Linked DNA regions of Homo sapiens: region 1 is linked to region 2. The links are contacts of gene promoters, found by promoter capture Hi-C in human tissues and cell types (Jung and others, 2019). All regions are on one chromosome and are shown on one strand. Each heading gives the region's core, a stretch centred on a gene start or on the middle of the fragment in contact. The rest is flanking DNA. Distances are from core to core; before and after follow the strand shown.

Region 1 (2,719 bases), core at 56-2,555, 130 kb before region 2:
TGCCAGCACTTTGGGAGGCTGAGGTGGGTGGATCACGAGGTCAAGAGATCAAGACCGTCCTAGCCAACATGGTGAAACCCTGTCTCTACTAAAAATGTGAAAATTAGATGGGCGTGGTGGCGTGCACCTGTAGTCCCAGCTACTCGGGAGGCTGAGGCAGAAGAGTCGCTTGAACCTGAGAGTCGGAGGTCGCAGTGAGCCAAGACTGCGCCACTGCACTCCAGCCTGACAACAGAGCCCACCTTGGCCTGTTATACATATAACTTTTTTTTTCATAGAGACCAGGGTCTTGCTATGTCTCCCAGGCTGGCTTTGAACTCCTGGGCTCAAACAATCCTCCCACCTCAGCCTCCCAAAACACTGGGATTACAGGCATGAGCCACAGCACCTGGCCAAAAAATTTAAAAATTAGCTGTGTGTGGTGGTGTGTGCTTGTAGTCCCAGCTACTCAAGAGGCTGAGGCAGGAGGATCGCTTAAGCCCGGGAGGTCGAGGCTGCAGAGTGATGATTACACCACAGTACTCAAGCCTGGCGACAGAGTGAGAGCCTGTCTCTAAAAAAAAACAAAAACAACAACAACAACACACAAACAGGGGTGGCCACATAGAGTTTTGTGAGGATTGAATGAATGCCTGGAAGATTAAAAAGTAATCACTGAGAAAAAAAAGGACTTTCAGGCTCAGGATATGAAAGAGCCAGGCCAAGCATGGTGGCTCACGGCTGTAATCCCAGCACTTTGGGAGGCCAAGGAGGGCGGATCACTTGAGGTCAGGAGTTGGAGCCCAGCCTGGCCAACATGGTGAAACCCCACCTCTACTAACAATACAAAAATCAGCTGGGCGTGGTGGCGCATGCCTGTATTCTCAGCTATGTGGGAGGCTGAGGCAGGAGAATTGCTTGAACCCAGGAGGCAGAGGTTGCAGTGAGCCAAGATCACTCCACTGCACTCCAGCATGGGCGATGGAGTGAGACTGTGTCTCAAAAAAAAAAAAAAAAAAAAAGCCAGCAAAGATTTAAAATCAAGAGTTTTCTTTATAATCATGAAAAATAGTTCAGATAAAAGAAATTAAAAGACTAGCAGCACCAATAAGATGAATACCTTATAAATGAGAGGGCTAATGTGTATTACAAAGTTAAAATCAGCAAATACAAAATTAAAATGAAAAGCTATGAAGTTGGTCTTAAAAGTTACTCTCCACAAGAGATAAAAGTTAAGAGGTTTAAAATAATGATAAAGTGACAAAATAAATGTGATTTAAGAAGATAGATGATCAATGCCTCAGGTCTGGGATTAAAAGATTAAAAATACAAACATTAAAGACGTAAGTCTGAGAAGATGGAGATGACCACCCAGGAGACAGAGAGACGGTGCAGAGAAGGGGACCGCAGATGAAGAACTGGCATTAGGGAGAAAGAATATCTTGTTTCTTTTCTTTTCTTCTTTTTTCTTTAAGAAGATACTGGGGGTCAGGCAGGGCGTGATGGCTCGTGCCTGTAATCCCAGCACTTTGGGAGGCCGAGACAGGGGGATCACGAGGTCAAGGGATTGAGACCATCTTGGCCAACATGGTGAAACCCTGTCTCTACTAAAAATACAAAAAAATTAGCTGGGTGTGGTGGCGCACACCTGTAGTCCCAGCTACTCAGGAGGCTGAGGCAGGAGAATCAGTTGATCTCAGGAGGCAGAGGTTGCAGTGAGCCGAGGGCCAAGGTCACGCCACTGCACTCCAGCCTGGCGACAGAGCAAGACTCTGTCCAAAAAATCCCCAAAAAGATACAGTGTCTCACTATGTTGCCCAGACTGATCTCCAGCTCCTGGGCTCAAGTGAGCCTCCTGCTTCAGCCTCCCAGAGTGCTAGGATTACAGGCATGAGCCACCGCACCTGGCCCATATTTATTTTCTGAACAAGAGATAAACTTTCAAGTAAAGAGGACTGAAATAAAAGAAAGAAAGAAGGAAGGAAAGAAAGAACAAACGAAAGAAAGAAAGAAAGAAAGAAAGAAAGAAAGAAAGAAAGAAAGAAAGAAAGAAAAACAGCTTTATTTATTTATTTATTATTTATTTATTTGAGACAGGGTCTCGCTCTGTCATCCAGGCTGGAGGGCAGTGGCATGATCATGGCTCACTGCAGCCTCGGCCTCCTGGACTCAGGTGATCCTCCCACGTCAGCCTCCCCAGTAGCTGGGATTACAGACATGTGCCGCCATGCCTGGGGTTTCACCATGTTGCCCAGGCTGGTCTCGAACTCCTAAGCTCAAGCAATCCTCCCGCCTCGACCTCCCAAAGTGCCAGATTACAGGTGTGAGCCACCATGTCCAGTACAGAAAAGTTGTTTTAAAGAAAACAATTCTGGGTGGATCACCTGAGGTTAGGAGTTGAGACCAGCCTAACCAACATGGTGAAACCCTGACTCTACTAAAAATACAAAATTAGCTGGGCGTGGTGGCGCATGCCTGTAATCCCAGCTACTTGGGAGGCTGAGGCAGGAGAATCGCTTGAACACGGGAAGCAGAGGTTGCAGTGAACAGAGATTGCGCCACTGCACTCCAGCTTGGGTGACAGAGCGGGACTCCACTTCAAAATAAAGAAGGAAAAAGAAAGAAAGAAAAAGAGATAAAGGAAGGGAGGAAAGAGAAAGAAAGAAAGAGAGAGAAAGAGAGAAAGAAAGAGAAAGAAGAAAGAGAAAGAAAGAAGGAAGGAAAGAAAAAGAAAGAAAAA
Region 2 (2,825 bases), core at 116-2,615:
GAAAGGGAAGAGGCTTCTGAAGCACACACGTGGTGCTCCCCGCACCCTCCTCCTCCTCTGCCCACAGCCCTAGGCCACCCCACCCACCTCCCTCAGGCATCGCGCAAGAGTGACGGCAGACCCCCTCATCCCAGACCCCCACTTCTCACCCAGAAGTGAGAGGAGGGGTCTCAGACGTTGGGGGACACACTGCTGGGTGGGTGATTTCCCCCCAAGGTGCTCCCTCTGCCCGTCCTTCCCAGGGTGGGGCTGGGGCCTGCGTGGCAGTGCCCAGTGGGCACCCGCTCGGCCCAAGCTCTGCCTGAAAGGTCCAAACGGGCGGGCCCTGAAGGTTCAGCCAAGCATCCTCCGCGGCCGCCGCCCCTCCCCGGGAGGAGGGCAGAAAATCTGCTGCCTCACCAGCCACCAGCGCCAGCTTGGGGGGACACCCCCTGAGAGAAGCCGCCCGCCTCAATCTCCTCCTACCCCACCTCAGCCAAGCACTTCAACCAAGTTTTGCAAAGGCCATCGGCCAGGCGACCCCAGAGGGTGTAGCAGGGAGGAGAGGGGGGCAGTCCCTGTTCTCCCAGACCCCAGGTTTGGAGATGGGGGCTGCATGGCCGCGCCCACCAGGCTGTGCTCCCCAGGCTCTGTGAGCCCAGAGAGCCCTGCGGCGCGTCCAGCCGTCTTGCTCTGCCCTTGGAAGGGGGTACGGGCGACCCTCCAACAGAAGGGCCAAACCCCCGTCCGAGGGTAGGGACCCCGATGAGGCTGGTGATGCCTTCAACAGGGGGACCCGCAGCCCGGGAATAGCCCCCAACCCTGGCACCCCAAGCAGTGCCCCCTCCTCTCCTACAAGCAACGGGGAAGTTGGGGCACACCCCAGCCAGCTCCCGCCCACGCCCACCGGCCGGCCTCGAACCCTCCCGCCCCCGCCCACGCCCCGACAATGCCTCCGGGCCCGCAGCCCCGCTTTCGGCCAGGCCGCCGCCCCCCGCATCTCTCCGTCCTTTGTTGCCCGCGCGACCCCCTCCCTCGGCCCCTCCAGCAGCCCCTACCTTCGTCCTTCCAGCATCAGGCTAAGCGGCGGGAGGCCCGGAGAGCCCCGGCCTCCTCCTCTCGGGCCCGGGCGCGCTGGGGGGCGAGGATGCTGCGGCCCCTCCCTGCGCGGCGCTGCCCACCGGCTGCACCCCCTCCTGGCGCCGGGGATCCCCGCGATAGGTGCTCAGGGCCCGGGCCTCGCGCCACGTCTCTGGGAAGGCGGGAGGCGCGCACCGAGGCCGCCCAGCAGCCGCCTGCGCGCCCCGCGGCCGAGCCGAGCTGAGCGCCCGCGGAGCCAGCGGAGCCAGCGGAGCCAGCGGCCCGGCTCCGGGAGGGAACAAAAGGGGCCGGCGCAGGGGCGGGCGCGGGAGGGCGGGGCCTGGGGCGGGCGGGAGGGGGGGGCGGGTCAGGCGCGCGTGGGCGGCCTCGCGGTTTTCAGGCCTCAGTGCCTCGCGGAAAGCAGGCGGGCGGGCGGAAAACGCGGAGCAACCTCTTCCCCCTCTCCCCGCTCCATCTCCTTCCCTTCCCAGGCCGCAGCTGTCCTTTGTGGGGCGTCCAGGGTTCGCCCACATCCACCTCCGCGCTGGGCACCTGGTGGTGCTTACATCGCGTTTGGTGAAACGCATCCTCCAGCCATGCTATGCTTGCAAAGATGTCTCTGGTCATTGGGAAGGACGGCAGCTTGGGAAGGTGAGATGCTGTTGGCGCTGGACAGAAAGGATGAGGAGGGGGACAGTGCAGCTGGGGCGAAAACTTCAGGTCTGTGTTGGGGCCAGCGTGGGTGGGGAACTGTGGCACAGGGTCTCATGGTTATCAAGGATCTCATAGCCTGGGCAGTGTCTCACGCCTGTAATCCCAGCACTTCAGGAAGCCAAGGCGTGCAGATCGCCTGAGGCCAAGAGTCCGAGAACAACCTGGGCAACGTAACCTTCGTCTCTACAAAAAATACAAAAATTAGCTGGGCGCGCGCCTGCGGTCCCAGCTACTGGGGAGGCTGGGGTGGGAGGATCGCTGGAGCCCAGGAGGTCGAGGCTGCAGTGAGTCATGATCAAGCCACGGCCCTTCAGCCTGGGTGACAGAGCGAGACTCCGTCCCAAAAGAAAAAAAAAAAAGGATCTCATGGTGATCAGCTTCCAAGATACAAATGAACCCTCCCCAGGACAGGATGCATGTACTGCTATTTCAGAGGAGTTGAGGCAGCTGCCAGGTCCCCTCCTGCGTGGAGAGGCAGATGCCAAGTGACAGCTCAGGAACTAAACAGTGACCAAGCCCCAGCCCCTGTCCATGCCCAGGCTGCGGTTGGCTTCTGTGGCTTGGTTTCCCTCTGTCCCCCCTTGATAAGCTCGCCTGGATGCCTTTGACCTAGCTGGCCGTTCTACCAGTCCTGCCCTGCCCCCTTTCTCTGTTTGACAAATCATATTCCCCCTTCAAAGCACAGCTTAAATGTCCCTGCTTTTCCCTTGAGTGCAGGAATGTGGGTGTTGGGGGAGGTTGTGGTCTGTATGGTGAGACCACTGTTCTGCGGGAGAGAAGTGCCACATACGATCTTGTTCCTATCCCCTAAGGGACCCAGTGCAATGCTTGGCAGAGGGTAGACATCCAGTAATATTTGTTGAATGAATGAATGAACTTACTAAGTTAACATTACCACCCCTCAACTGTCTTGGTATCCATAATCTTTGAGAAGTGAGTGAACCTTTTTTTAGAGAAGGGGTCTCACTCTGTCACCCAGGCTGGAGTGCAGTGGTGTGATTACAGCTCACTGCAGCCTCAAACTCCCAGGCTCAAATGATCCTCCTGCCTCA

Evidence for each region. The method cuts DNA at HindIII sites, captures the fragments that hold promoters and counts their contacts. A contact is called where the count stands out against the background at its distance.
Region 1: a contact is called between a fragment that was not itself captured here and the fragment with the promoter of CLIP2 in region 2, in 3 of the 25 tissues and cell types used here (dorsolateral prefrontal cortex, hippocampus and spleen).

Annotation. Positions count from the first base shown.
Region 1 is chr7:74,420,169-74,422,887 of GRCh38, reverse strand. No RefSeq gene overlaps it. Among named protein-coding and RNA genes, the nearest start is that of GTF2IRD1, 32 kb to the left of the region's middle. The HindIII fragment of the contact is 8,329 bases long and covers 1-2,719 here.
Region 2 is chr7:74,287,947-74,290,771 of GRCh38, reverse strand. It overlaps CLIP2 (CAP-Gly domain containing linker protein 2), which reads right to left and starts at 1,365. Exons shown (of 17, transcript NM_003388.5): 1 at 1,038-1,365. It overlaps LOC107986742 (a long non-coding RNA gene), which reads left to right and starts at 1,465. Exons shown (of 2, transcript XR_001745024.2): 1 at 1,465-1,710. RefSeq lists enhancers at 1-366, 367-1,011 and silencers at 887-956, 977-1,446. The HindIII fragment of the contact is 6,317 bases long and covers 1-2,825 here.